Linked DNA regions of Homo sapiens: region 1 is linked to region 2. The links are contacts of gene promoters, found by promoter capture Hi-C in human tissues and cell types (Jung and others, 2019). All regions are on one chromosome and are shown on one strand. Each heading gives the region's core, a stretch centred on a gene start or on the middle of the fragment in contact. The rest is flanking DNA. Distances are from core to core; before and after follow the strand shown. Region 1 holds the start of KRTAP19-2 (keratin associated protein 19-2). Region 2 holds the start of LOC105372773 (a long non-coding RNA gene).

Region 1 (7,560 bases), core at 4,176-6,675, 240 kb after region 2:
AAGAGGATAATTGTGTGGATCAGGAAAAAGGAATGAATGGGAGGAGGGCAATACAATCTGTATTTTTGGTAGCACCTTGGATGTCTAATATGCCAGTAAGGGAGTCGGGATGTGAAAACAATTTTGAACAGTTTGTAAAGCTGCTTAGGAAATAGATTTTTGATTACTGTGATTTGACTTTAATGTTTGAGCAATATACTGTTGTGTTGTTAAATCAAAATGGTTTTTATTTTTTAAACGAGTAAAACCAAAAAAAGAGAATATTGGTTATGATGGCCAATGTTCTAGAGTAATAGAAGAATGATGGCTTTATTTTAACTTTTTTAACCCCATGAAATTCTTTACTGTTAGGCATAGCAGGTGAGCAGATGGCTCCAGTCTTTCAAATGTTTGCTTCTCTTTAAAAAGGGACCTCACCTGAGGTAATAGATACCTCTGGAAGAATATAATAAATTTCAGAGCATTGAATTTAACCAAAGTCTGTTATTTAATCATAAATGAGTAAAACAATTCAAGGAAAGCCAGAGATGAAGCAATATTTAATTTCAAAACATAGCATTACCAACTATGTAATGCAATATGCCTACGAAGAAGTCTATTTAAGGTCTGGTATGCACAGACTTTGAAGCTACAGCAATTTCTTCTCATAAAAGTGATGCAATATGTTAAAGGGACAGCATGAGAAGACAGCAATGCAAGCTCAAACACTTTAATGAGTTTGAGGGCCTCTTCAGATGTCAGGATTGGGTCAGGTAAGTGTAACATACACAACTACACTAAAATAGGCAGCAAGTGTTTTGTTACGTGATGTGTCAGGGTATATAAGCATGCCTGCACAGATGTCAACATTCACACTCAGGACCTTGCCTTGAGCAGCAAACCAAACTCACTACCCCTGACACCATGAGCTACTACGGCAGCTACTATGGAGGCCTGGGCTATGGCTGTGGAGGCTTTGGTGGCCTGGGCTATGGCTATGGCTGTGGATGTGGCAGCTTCCGCAGACTGGGTTCTGGCTGTGGCTATGGAGGCTACGGATATGGCTCTGGCTTTGGAGGCTATGGATATGGCTCTGGCTTCGGAGGCTACGGATATGGCTGCTACCGCCCATCATACTATGGAGGATATGGATTCTCTGGATTCTATTAAACTACTGCCCCAGCAACACAATGTGTGAAATTATAAGAGGACTTTCCCAGAGCTGACTTCAATCATTGGACAACAAAGATCATGCTGGAGCTATTTGCACAAAAGAATTTAACATCTCAGAATTTCAGGCAATTTTTTTTCTCTGTATACCCACATCTCTATAATAATCCTAGTATTCTCTACTTTTGCTTTTAAAGCTGATTGAATTATCTGTTTATCTTCCAATAAAACATTCTATTTTCAAACACAATATGGTTCTGTTTTGTTCATGAAACTCAATTATACGTAAGTGATGATGTCAATGAGAGAAGCTATCTCCTTGGTTGAGAATCTATGTTTTTTCATATACCTCATAAACATGCATGCAGATAGATAAATACATCGATAGCTCCAAAGAAGAATAATTCTAGATTGAAATGAAAAGAACTGCAAAATGGTTAGTAATCTGATATTTTTCAACATTTTCCTTTTATTTAGATAGTATTCAGATTTAAGTCAACAACAAAAAGGAATACCTACTAAACATGTCTTTATATTTATATATCAAGCATATATGTTTTATTTAATTCAGATCACATTTGTCAACTCACTCTGAATGTGTAATGAATTCTTCTATCCATTCAAAATTTCTTTCTTTTTATTGTAAGAGCAAGCAAATGGTGACAGATCAAATGATATTCCTAGGTTAATTATGAAAGTGTATTTTCTTTCCAAGAATTATTGTAATTGGTATAACCTCACCCTATCATACTCTTCTGTCCATTAATTTATTTGACATTTTCATTGAACAACTGATGTACATAACTATTAAATTAGTATAGAATTTTTTTTCATATTGGATTAACATATTTAACTCAAAATATTTTAGATAATTTTTTCAGCTAGCTTTTCTATTATCTTACTTGGTCTTCATGGTATGATATGGCAAAGTCATGGCATGATATAGCAAAGTTATCATTTGGCCAGTAGAAAACTTTATTTTCATTATTTCACACACCAACACAGGATCTGAGTTTCACAATTAACTCATGATCTTCCTGGAAAAATATCCCCAAAATAGCATAACAGAGAAATAATTGTGCAAGTCATTGAGTCCACTGAATTAAGAGAAAAAAATTGAAAAATAAACATTTCTCAGTTTCCAAAGTTAATCGCTATCCAAAAGATACTATAATTGTTCTACTTTTCAATTAGGAAAAAAAGCAGAAGTATTTGATTGTTTTGGTTCATATCTTTCACAGCATTATATGATCATATATGTGCATGTATATATATGTGTGTATTTGTGTATCACAATGAAGTATATCTTATTATTTTGTTATTTGAAAATACATAAGAAAAGCAGGGCATATTTTATTAAATATATTTTATTTGTAATAAATAATAAAATTTGCCTTTAATTTGTAAAATCTATTGGATTATATTTCTCTTGGAGATGGTTATATGCATCGGAAATAGCAATGTACATTAGCCTTTCATGAGGGTTAGAAAATCTTGCAGGTTTACCCAATAATTCATGAGATTCTTAAAGTAGTTAGACTTACTTATTATTGTTTGTCTTCAACAACTACTCATTGAGAATTTAAACATTGTCCAGTTTTCTTTTTCAGAACGAAAATAAAGGTGGAATTAATTTTGATAAAGGAGAAAACAACCATGGCAAATATTGAGTTAAATATTCATTTAAAACCTGAAAGCCATTTTGAGTGCATATTCCACCTTAGATATGCACTACATGTTGAGGCAGGCAAAATTCATTCTTTCATTTATCCAACAAATTTTTTGGAAGAATAGTGAACAAATCAAGTTGAGAAAACGCATTATCAAAAATGTTGCTTATAGACCTCAAAACAAAGCAAAACAGAAAACAAAACAACAAAAAATACTCTTGGCAAAATGTTTAAAGTCTTGTAAAGCAAAGTATTGCTTAAGGACCCAAATCCAATATATGGTCATATTTTGGTGGAGCTAAACTTGGGATTGATTTACTATCTTCCTAGAGTAAGCACAGAAAATCTGTGGAGCATGGCCAGCCCTCCTCACATCCTTGCTTCCTATCTCAGTTATTTCACCACTGCACATTCGCATTTGAGATTTTCAAGGCATCAGAATTTTAAGAGACTGTTAGATGTATTATATGACTCTAAGAGTCATATAAAATATTGTTTAAAAATGTATAACCTTAATAAATAAATAATGTCTTATGTTTGCTGGTTGAGAGAAAGTAGGAAGATGAGGCACACAGAATTGGAAAAGAAAACATAAGGACAAAAATATTGTGATAAAATTAAATATATGGGTAGAAGGGTAAAATACTGATTAGAAAAAAATGGATAAGAAGAAATACCTGCTTGGCACTAGTACATATTGGGAATGAATGCAGCATAAAATGAAAAGCTTTGATAAAGAGAACTGATATATACATAGTGAGGAAGAGTAGGAAGTGGAAGAAAAGTGGTATCTGTAAAGCATGAAGCCAAGCTCATCTGAGTTTCTAGGTAATACTTTATTTAGAGCCAGTTCTGGAAAATTGTGTAACGATAAAAATAGACTTGATTGTTTTCGTGTGTGTGTGTGTGTGTGTGTGTGTATGTGTCTGTTTTAGACAGTTTCACTCTGTTACCCAGGCTGGAGCGCAGTGGCATGATCATGGCTCACTGCAGCATTGACCTCCCAGGGATCAAACAATCCTCCTGCCTTTGCCTCCCGAGTAGCTGGAACCACAGGTGTGCACCTCACACCTGGCTATTTTTTGATTTTTTGGTGGAGACAAGGTCTCCCTATGTTGCCCAGGCTACTCTCAAACTCCTGGTGATATAGTTTGGCCATGTCCCCATCCGAATCTCAACTTGAATTGTATCTCCCAGAATTCCCATGTGTTGTGGGAGGGATCCAGGTGGAAGTAATTGAATCATGAGGGCTGGTCTTTCCCTTGTTATTCTCATGATAGTGAGTAAGTCTCATGAGATCCGATGGGTTTATCAGGGGTTTCCGCTTTTGCTTCTTTCTCATTTTCTCTTGCCGCCACCATGTAAGAAGTACCTTTCACCTCCTGCCATGATTCTGAGGCCTCCAGAGCCATGTGGAACTGTAAGTCCAATTAAACCTATTTTTCTTCCCAGTCTCAGGTATGTCTTTATCAGCAGTGTGAAAACAAACTAATATACCTGATCTCAAGTGATCTTCTCACCTTGGCCTCCAGAATTACAGGGGTGAGCCACTGTGCCCCACCTGAAGAGAATATCTTTGAACTGCTGTTCAGGCTGGTGTAAAACTGAGTTTATTCTCTTGGATAATATATCAGTTTCTGGAATAAATTTTGTTACATTGATAAGCCAAAACAATGTTTTGCAAGCTGATATAGAAAATTAAAGTAGTTTTATATTATGTCTACATACATATTTTCCATTACTTTGTGTTTACCACAGCTGATAAGAAAATTTATTTATTCAAAAACTTCCTTTTCTTTTGAAGGAGGAATAGCCTTAATTTCTCAACGCAATAAAAATATTTGATATTTGAAGGCTTTACTAGATTTAAAAGTTTTAAACTTGATCGATTTATTTGAATCTAGGTGGAGGTAAAATAGAACAATCTAAGGAATGGTGTAAAAATGAGAAATGAGAAAACATTTAATAAAAACACAGTGTCAAATACAAATAATTCAATATGCATAGTGATGAAGAATTTAGGATTTTTTAAAAATTGTGTAACTTTGAAGATGCAGACTATTTTATCATTAAAAAGAATGTATCAGCTGGGCGCAGTGGCGCAAGCCTGTAATGCCAGCACTTTGGGAAGCCAAGGTGTGTGGATCACCTGAAGTCAGGAGTTCGAGACCAGCCTGGCCAACATGGTGAAACCCTGTCTCTACTAAAAATATAAAAATTAGCTGAGAGTGGTGGCAGACACCTGTAATCCCAGCTACTCAGGAGGCTGGGGCAGGAGAATCACTTGAACCCAGGAGGTGGAGTTTATAGTGAGCTGAAATCACAACATTGCACTCCAGCCTGGGTGACAAGAGCAAGACTCCATCTTAAAAAAAAAATGTAATAAGTTCAAGGGCATTCTAACCATGCAGCTAAGCCAGCTCAAAGATTTTAATGAGTTTGTGTCTCTCCTTGTGCTAACAAACAGATTGATTATTTGTATAGAGTAGATAAATAAATTGGGATGCTGCAAAAGGATGGCCACATGTTTATCACATGTTCTGCTCAGGGTATATAAGCGTTCCCTAAACATGCTATATTCACACTCAGGACCTTGCCTGGGACAGCAAACCCAACTCACTATCTCTGACACCGTGAGCTACTAGGGCAGCTACTGTGGAGGTCTGGGCTATGGCTGTGGAGGCTTTGGTGGCATGTGCTATGGCTACGGCTGTGGATGTGGCAGCTTCTGCAGACTGGGCTATGGCTGCGGCTATGAAGGATGCAGATATGGTTGTGGCCACAGAGGCTGTGGAGATGGCTGCTGCTGCCCATCATGCTACAGAAGATATAGATTCACTGGCTTCTACTAAGCTGCTGCTCTAGTGATGCAGCATCTGTTATTTTGAAGGGATTTAAAAACAAGTTACTTACTTCTAAGATACAATGGGGGTAAAGGTGTAAATGTGTAAATGCTCCCATTCCAAAGGGAGAAATTGACCAAAACAAAGGGGCTATAAGACCCCAAACAAGTCCAAAACCCAGCAGGGCAGTCATTAAATATTAAAGCTTCAAAATAATCTCCTTTTACTGCATGTCTCACACCCAGGCCACATCGATGCAATGGGTAGACTCCCAGGGCATTGGGCAGCTCCACTTCTGTGGCTCTGCAGGGTATAGTTCTCCTGGCTGCTTTCACAGGCTTGCATTGAGTATCTGCAGCTTTTCCTGGCACACAGTGGAAGCTGTCTGTGGATCTACCATTCTGGGGTCTGGAGGATGGTGACCCTCTTCTCAGAGCTCCACTAGGCAGTGTCTCAGTAGGGACTCTGGGTGGGGGCTCTAAACCCACATTTCCCCTCCACATTGCCCTAGTAGAGGTTTTCCATGAGGGCTCCACACTTGTAGCAGACTTCTGCCTGGAAATCTAGGTATTTTCTTACTCCCTCTGAAATCTAGGCAGGAGCTCCCAAGCCTCAACTCTTGCCCTCTGTGCACCCACAGGCTTAACACCATGTGAAAACCTTGGCAGCTCCTCGCTTGCACACTTGGGAACATCAGCCTGAGATGTATCTGGAGCCCTTTTACCGATGGCTGGAGCTTGAGTGTCTGGGACTCAGGGCAACATGTCCCAAGGCTGCACAGAGCAGTGGGTCCTTGGGCCTGGCCAACAAAATCATTTTTCCCTCCTAGGCCTCCAGGCCTGTGGTGAAAGGGCTGCTGCAATGGTCTCTGAAATGACTTGGAGGCATTTTTCCATTGTCTTGGCTATTAACATTTGGCTCCTCTCTACTTATGCAAATTTCTGCAGCAGGCTTGAATTTCTCCCCAAACAATGAGATTTCATTTTCTATGACATGGCTGGGCTGCAAATTTTCCAAACTTTTATGCTATGTTTCCCTTTTATGCTCTGGAAATATAAGTTCCAGCTTCAGATAATCTCTTTGTTCAAGCATATGAGGGTATGCTGTTAGAAGTAGCCATATTACATCTTGAATGATTTGCTGCCTAGAAATTTCTTCTGCCAGATACCCTAAATTGTCTCCCTCAAGTTCAAAGCTCAACGGATCCCTAGAGCACAGGCACGGTGCTGCCAGTCTCTTTGCTAAAGCATAGTAAGTGTGACCTTTTCTCCAGTTCCCAATAAGTTTCTCACCTCCATCTGAGACCACCTCATTTGGGCTTTATTGTCCATGTCACTATCAGCGTTTTGGTGACAACAATTTAACAAATCTCTAGGAAGTTCCAAACTTTCTCCCATCTTCTTTTCTTCTGAGCTCTCCAAACTGTTCCAACCTCTGCCTGTTACCCAGTTCCAAAGTCGTTCCACATTTTCAAGTATCTTTATAGCAATGTCCTTCTTCTCTGGTACCAATTTTCTGTATTAGTCCATTGTCACACTGCTATAAAGAAATACCTGAGACTGGGTAATTTATAAAGTAAATAAGTTTAATTGGCTCACAGTTCTGTGGGCTGCACAGGCTTCTCCTAGAGAGGCCTCAGGAAACTTTCAAGTATGGTGAAAGGCAAAGGAGAAGCAAGCACATCTTCACATGGTCAGCAGGAGAGAGAGGTCAAGGGAGGTGCTACACACTGTTAAATAAGCAGATCTCGGGAGAACCCCATCACAAGACAGCAGTAGGAGGATGATGCCAAACCATCAGACATTGCCCCCATACCCAATCACCTTCTACCAGGCCCCTCCTCCAACAGTAGGGGTTACAATTTGACATGAGATATGGGCAGGGACACACATATAAAG
Region 2 (7,200 bases), core at 1,320-3,819:
GGTTTTGGTATCAGGATGATTCTGGCCTCATAAATGAGTTAGGGAGGAGTCCCTCTTTTTCTATAGTTAGGATTAATTTTAGAAGGAATGGTACCAGGTCCTCTTTGTACCTCTGGCAGAATTCAGCTGTTAATCCGTCTGGTTCTGGGCTTCTTTTTCGTTAGTAGGCTATCAATTACTGCCTCAATTTCAGAACTTGTTATTGGTCTATTCAGGGATTCAACTTGTTCCTGGTTTAATCTTGGGAGGGTGTGTGTGTCCAGGAATTTATCCATTTCTTCTAGACTTTCTAGTTTTTTGTGTGTAGAGATGTTTATAATATTCTCTGGTGGTGGTTTGTATTTCTGTGGGATCTGTGGTGATATCCCCTTTATCATTTTTTATTGTGTCTATTTGATGCTTCTTCTCTCTTTTCTTCTTTATCAGTCTGGCTAGCGTGCTATCTATTTTATTCATCTTTTCAAAAAACTACCTCCTGGATTCATTGATTTTTTTGAAGGGTTTTTCGTGTCTCTATCTCCTTCAGTTCTGCTCTGATTTTAGTTATTTCTTGTCTTCTGCTAGCTTTTGAATTTATTTGCTCTTGCTGCTCTAGTTCTTGTAATTGTGATGTTAGGGTGTCGATTTTAGATCTTTCCCACTTTCTTTTGTGGGTATTTAGTGCTAATAATTTTCCTCTAAACACTGATTAAGCTGTAGCCCAGAGATTCTGGTACATTGTGTCTTTGTTCTCATTGGTTTCAAAGAAATTATTTATTTCTGCCTTAATTTCATTATTTACCCAGCAGTCATTCAGGAGCACGTTGTTCAGTTTCCATGTAGTTGTGCAGTTTTGAGTGAGTTTCTTAATCCTGAGTTCTAATTTGATTACACTGTGGTCTGAGAGACTGTTTGTTATGATTTCCGTTCTTTTTAAATGAAATTCGGCGTCCATTCACAGTAAAAAAAAAAAGTGATTAGTAAAATTTGTGAGGAATATTTATCTTTTACAAGACAAATTTTAACATCAAGTTTATGGTTGAAATCCTAAAAATTCCCACAAATGAGTAAGATAATGGTGTCCACCATCACCATTTAAAAAAATTAATAAGGTAATAAGATGAAATAATGCATGCAGCTAATGTAAGACTAGGTGAGTTGGCTATTGACTCAGAAAACCTAAAAGAACAGCTAAAAATATTAAAAATAAATAATAAATTTCTCAAGGGTATTGGTTATAAATAAATACACCAAAATAAATACCAATAAAATCTCGTAGTGAATAGACTGGAAACAGGATGAAGTCAAGACAGCAGACTCTTCACTCATTTATTTTATAGCTATGGTTCTCCAGTTTCAGCATGCATAAGAATCACTGGAGACTGTGCTGAAACAGATTTCTGGGCCTCAGACATGCTGATTCCAGAGATGCTGATTCAGTTTTTCTGGGTGGGGCTTGAGAATTTGCCTTTCTAACAAGTTTACAGTGATCCTAATGCTGCTGGTTCCTGGACTATTTTTGAATAGCCTACAACTCTGTGAAGTTGAAGTCCTATCCAGCCATGTTTCACAAAAAAGCAAGCCTTGCCAAATCTTCAATACCCTTTCATGTGTGCTATCCCAGTGAAGTACACCTTCACCTCCTGAAGCCCACTCCCTCACTGGGACTTCGTAATCCAGCATTCATCTGTTTCCCACATTCACCTCTAAGTTCTGGAAGAAAACATTCACCCGTTTTCCAATTCTACCTCTAAGTTTTGGAAGAAACATGGGTCCTCCTGTTTCTTCCAAAACTTAGAAGTAGTTAGAGAACAAAGGTAAAACTCCACCATCAACCCTAATTCAATGTCATTGCCATTCCTAAAACTTAAAAGGAAGAGAAGATGGAAAAGAAAAGATAAGGAATAGAGAAAACAGATCAGAGAAGCTGAAAGGAAAGCCTCCAATGCAGCCACGCCATTGTTGGAGATGGTTTTTACCTGTAAGTTTCTCAGCCTTGCAGCATCCACTCCCCATGCCTTTCAATCCCCTTGTACCTACTCATTGCTTTTCTCAGATATTGTGCTTTCAGACTGATTTGATTTCAGATTCATTGCTTTTCTCAGATATTGCACTTTCAGATTTATTTGAAGCTTTCCTTTATTTAGAGCAGTGACTCAAATCCGAATGCATGTCAGATTCCATTAAATGGCAATACCTGAGTCCCACCTTTGAGATTTTGGTTTTATTGGTCTGAGATGGGAGTACTGGCATTTTATTAAAGTTTTCCCACGAAATACAATGCACATCCATGATTGAGAAGATATCCCTATCACCTCAAAGTTGGCTAAGAATTGTGCCCCAGACCACAGAAGTGAGAATTTTCCCCAAATTGCCAAACCATCTTTCTTTTCTTCCACCTGGAAATGTGTACTTTCCATTTGATTGAGATTAAAGTTCAAAAGTATCTCTGTAGTTAAATTTGTGTGGAGAATGCAAATTATAACAATGACTGAGGATTCAGGCAGTTCAGCTTCTGACTTACGGTTGATGACTGATTTTATGCGTCAACTTGGCTAAGCTACAAAGACCAAATGTTTGGTCGAACACCAGTCTAAAGGTTGCTATGATGATATTTTTCAGATAAGGTTGGCATTTAATCAGCAGACTTGAGAAAAGTCACGTACCTTCCATAATGTGGGTGAGCTTCCTCCAGGCAGTTGAGGGCCTTAAGAGAAAAGGGTGATGTCTACCAGAGGAAGAGGGAAATCTGCCTTCAACCTGAGTTCACATTCAAGTTGCAAGATCAGCTCTTCCCTGGGTCTCCAGCCTGCTCAGCAGATTTTGATTTTGCTAGCCCCTACAATCATGTGAGCCAATGCTTTAAAATCTGCCTCTTCTCTCGCTCTGTCTCTCTGTATCCCTCCCTCCCTTTCTCTCTCTCTCTCTTTATTGTCCCCCAATTTCTCTCCCTCTCCTTGCTTCTCTCTCTTCTCTCTCTCCCCGCTTATCTCCCTTCTGGCCTCTCTCCTCTCTACTCCTCCTCCTTTTCTCCCTCCCCACTTTTCTCTCTCTTTTCTCTCCCTCTCTACTCTCCTCTTTCTCTCTCCCCCTCACTCTCCCTCTTTTTTCTCTCTCCTCCCTCTCTTTCCCTTTCTCTCCTCTCTCTCTCATTCCTCTTTGCCTCTCTCTCCCTCACTCTTCCACCTCTTCCTTCTCTCTCTCTCTCTGTGTGTGTGTGTGTGTGTGTGTGTATGTATGTATTTCCTTCATGCATCCTGTAGGTATGTGTATACACATACTTACATGTAGACACACACATCCTACTGTTATTTTTTCTTGGGAGGACCGTAACACACCATTGAACTAGGTGGAAGTGAGATTAACTGCTAAGGCCCTGGGGTTTATGGCTTCCCTTTGGGTAACTTTGTCCCCTGAACAGAATACAGATCAACATTGAGTCCCCTGAATTTCTCTTAAACCTGAGCATGAGATAGTCTCTCTAGGGTCCTCAGCTCGAGTCTGTGATCTCTGTTCCTTATCTCACCCCTATTCAGAGCTGGTAAGATATGCATAAAAGATGGTGGATGATAAACTTAAAATCTAACATTTGGGTTCTAAAACCTTTACAAATATTCAGACTTATGTAGCAGCTAGATGATTGAGCTTTCCACAATAACCTCTGCACTTTAGATTCCAGTTTCAGAACTGCACATTAAACCAATTTTGGCGGAGGGTACAAGGCAAATGTTAGATAAAACATGGAATATTAACCTTCACAGCAAAACCTTTTAGATTCATTTAGATAACTGATTGCTCAAATAGCCTGTTTCCATTATTGTCTAAGCTTTGTGAATCACAGAAAGTACACTGCTAATCACCACTTGTCTGGTTTTAAACAGGTCAGAATGTCCTCAAAAATAAAAGCTCAGTAAGCCATTAACCTTTTGTGTTGGCCACTGCTATTTTATCTAGAGACCTTGTTATGAGGACAAGACGATTGATCTATGGCAGTGGTTCTGAAATGATAGTGTGTATTAAATTAACCAGAGTGCTTGAAAAACATAGAGTTTTTGGGTCCTACTCCTAGACCTTCTGATTTAGTAGGTTTTGGGTAGAACCTCAAAATCTGCAATTTTAACAAATTCCCAAGTGATGCTGATAACTGCTGATCCATACACTCCACTTTTAGAAACTCTAACTCTTAAAAATTGCAGTGGAGCAAATGAATTAATGGAAAATATATTTTTTCACCTGGGTTCAGTAGGTGATCAACAGGGATTTATCGAGCACTTAATATGTGTTTGGTCAGCACCATGATAGTGTTGTGTAGATGAGAATAGTTGCTGAGATCAAAGAACTAACCATCCATTTGGAAGATCAAGACTAACATACCTATTTGTAGAAAAGAACAAAACTTGAGATATAACAGCTTATGTGTCACAGATGAAAAGACTGGCAGGAGTTCATAGGAAAGGAAGATAATGAGGACTCCGGGAACTGCAGAAAGCTTCTGTCGAAGGGGAAATGAACTGGGCTTGGAAGAACTGCATTAATAGATTAGAAAATCAGAAATTCAAGGTGGGAGAGTCACTGGGGACAGAGGCAGAATGGGCATTAAATCGGCTGTTTAGGGGAAATGGTTGGTGTCTTGCACATGAATGTATTTAACAAATAATGTGATGATTACCATGACTTAGAGTGGTAAACAGATTTGGAATGGTTAGGGGAAGAGGTATATTATGAGAGATCTGTGAGCCCAGGCAGAGGATATAGAATTAGCACAGTAGGAGATTCAGAATATTAAGCAGAAGAAATGCATGATAAAAGTAATATGTAGGAAATATAAATTTAGAAACAATGTGCAGAATAGGTTGGACAGTGTGGAAACGAAAGATGCATTGAGTTCCTGGAGCTAAGGACTTATTGGGGTGGGGGGGTCCAAGAGTGAGAAGATTAGGACCAGAATTAAGCCTGTTGCAGTAAGAGTAAGAAAATAGATACCAAAATTTTGTATGGAAAATGATTTGTTTCAGTGACATAAACAAATGCATAAATGTGGTACTTTTGAATGTGGGTATTCATCAAGAAAGGAAATGTTATTAACAGGGAGAAATATTTTTAAAATTTAGTTTTGCCAGAGAGATGTATCTGGTTTTGGATATGTTGATTTGAGGTAATAATACATTCAAAAAAATTATCTAGCTAAGATTTGTATATTTAAGGAGAGTACACGACATATCAATTTGAAAGTAACTGATATTAATTTTTTATTTAAAGCTGTAAATGTGAGAGAAAATATTTACTCACACACATTTATTCCTTAAGTTTTAATGGATCACTTTCTGTAAGTCAGACATTGTAGTGGGAGTACAAATGGGAAATTAATAAGAGAATTTAGAGAGAGAAAGTCAAGGAATTGAATCTAGGAAGGGCTCCTTAGTTAGAGTTTGGGTAGAGTCAGAGGAATAAATGAAGAAAACACATGAAAGGTACAGTTGTAAAAAGAGAATGAGGATGGTGTTGAAAAGGGTTGGAAGTAGAGGAAATGATACCTTGTGGCAGCAGAGGTCAACGATAACCATGGAGAAGAAATGTGACTGGCATTGGCAAAAGAAAACATTAAAAATCTCTTAGGGAAGAGTAGGCAGAAGAAGGGAGTAGATTTGAAGAGACTGATGAAGATAGAGCCATAGAGCAATAAAAGTAGAAACAAGTTAGGATACCACGTTGGTGGAGAGCTAATAATTTGAAGGAAGAAAAAAATACCTCATCTTCTGAGACTGAAGGGAAAACACAACAGAAATATGACTTATTTTCAATACAATCTTTTTTTCAAAATTAAACATATATTTTTACATAAATCTATAATGATTAAATATTTTTTGCATATAATCTACTCTTATAAATTATATATGCATTTAAATGTGAACATTAAATGGATGCTGACTTTGAACTAAAGGTATTTCTATTAATATTATCACCGTATTTAATTTTTACATGAATATTTTGGAGAATGAGATAAATTAAATCTAACAAAGTGAATTATAAAATATCTAGTAGAATAATAAATTGCTTATTTTCTTCTTTCTATTTAAAAAAATTTGCAGGCAAATGAATGTGAACATTCACATTTTCTTTCCCCTGACGTAGAGAAATCTTCATGAGGATGGAGAACATAGGAGTTAAGCCACTTTCAGAGGTGGGAATGGAAATTTTCAGATTTGATGATGTTCCAGGTAGAGAAATAACACCATTGATTCAAGAAAGAAAAATGGGCCTAAAAGGTCAGTAGTATATTTGGTAAGAAGTAGAAAATAGCTGGGGGAAGAATATGAAACTTAATTTTACCATCACATATTTTGGAAATTTATTGGTGATTTTACAGAGAGGGCTATTATGGTCAAAGACATAGTTGTATACTTTACAAATGAAGGCTAGGGGTATACAAATTCCGAATTTTACTTAAAGTGGCACAGGGTCATCACTGCTATTAACATGAGACCTTAGCTGAGAAAATGAAAGGGAAAATATGGGAAAGATGAATAAATTTGCAATAAATTTTGCATTTGACTTAATGTGGTGAATTTTTACTAATGAAAAGCTGAAAATAATTACATAATATGTCATCAATAATCGGGAAATTAAGCAGAAACAAATTTTCAGAATACGAATGAATTCTTATATGGTTAGGAAATACTTTTCAGAGCAACTCAGCATTTTTGGGTCAAGAGAAAAATAGCAACCACAATTCCTTACAGTCACATGAAAGTCAAAAGTCTGAAAAGGAACAGATACTTAAGTGTATGAAATGATAGAAAAAAAAATCCACAATAAAATACATATTGCAGTTCTAATTTCCCTGTACAAAGTAAGATGCTTGCAGGGGTATAGAATGTACAGAGCAAAATATAAAACAAAAAATAAAAATAATAACAAGGTTCTCACTTTTAAAGAGACTGCATATATTAAAATAGGTAACATGAGACATATATGCAAAGAAACACATGATACATCATAATACGGATAATTTGCAGCAAAAGATGGTTCAAATAAAGTATCAATTAAAAACATTTTTTTTAGAAAGATGATCTCACTCTGTCACCCAGGCTAGAGTGCAGTGGTCTGATCATAGGTCACTGCAGCCTCAAATTCCTGGGCTTAAGGGATCCTCCCACCTCAGCCTCCTGAGTAGCTGGGACTATAGGCATGTGCCACCACATTCTGCTAATTTATTTTATT

What was found. The method cuts DNA at HindIII sites, captures the fragments that hold promoters and counts their contacts. A contact is called where the count stands out against the background at its distance.
Region 1: a contact is called between the fragment with the promoter of KRTAP19-2 here and a fragment that was not itself captured in region 2, in 1 of the 25 tissues and cell types used here (H1 embryonic stem cells).

Annotation. Positions count from the first base shown.
Region 1 is chr21:30,485,301-30,492,860 of GRCh38, reverse strand. It overlaps KRTAP19-2 (keratin associated protein 19-2), which reads left to right and starts at 5,425. Exons shown (of 1, transcript NM_181608.2): 1 at 5,425-5,818. The coding sequence starts at 5,513. The coding sequence ends at 5,671. It overlaps KRTAP19-3 (keratin associated protein 19-3), which reads left to right and starts at 848. Exons shown (of 1, transcript NM_181609.4): 1 at 848-1,399. The coding sequence starts at 904. The coding sequence ends at 1,149. The HindIII fragment of the contact is 4,878 bases long and covers 4,708-7,560 here.
Region 2 is chr21:30,721,145-30,728,344 of GRCh38, reverse strand. LOC105372773 (a long non-coding RNA gene) reads left to right here and starts at 2,599. Exons shown (of 3, transcript XR_937655.3): 1 at 2,599-2,828; 2 at 6,069-6,245. The HindIII fragment of the contact is 3,137 bases long and covers 1,001-4,137 here.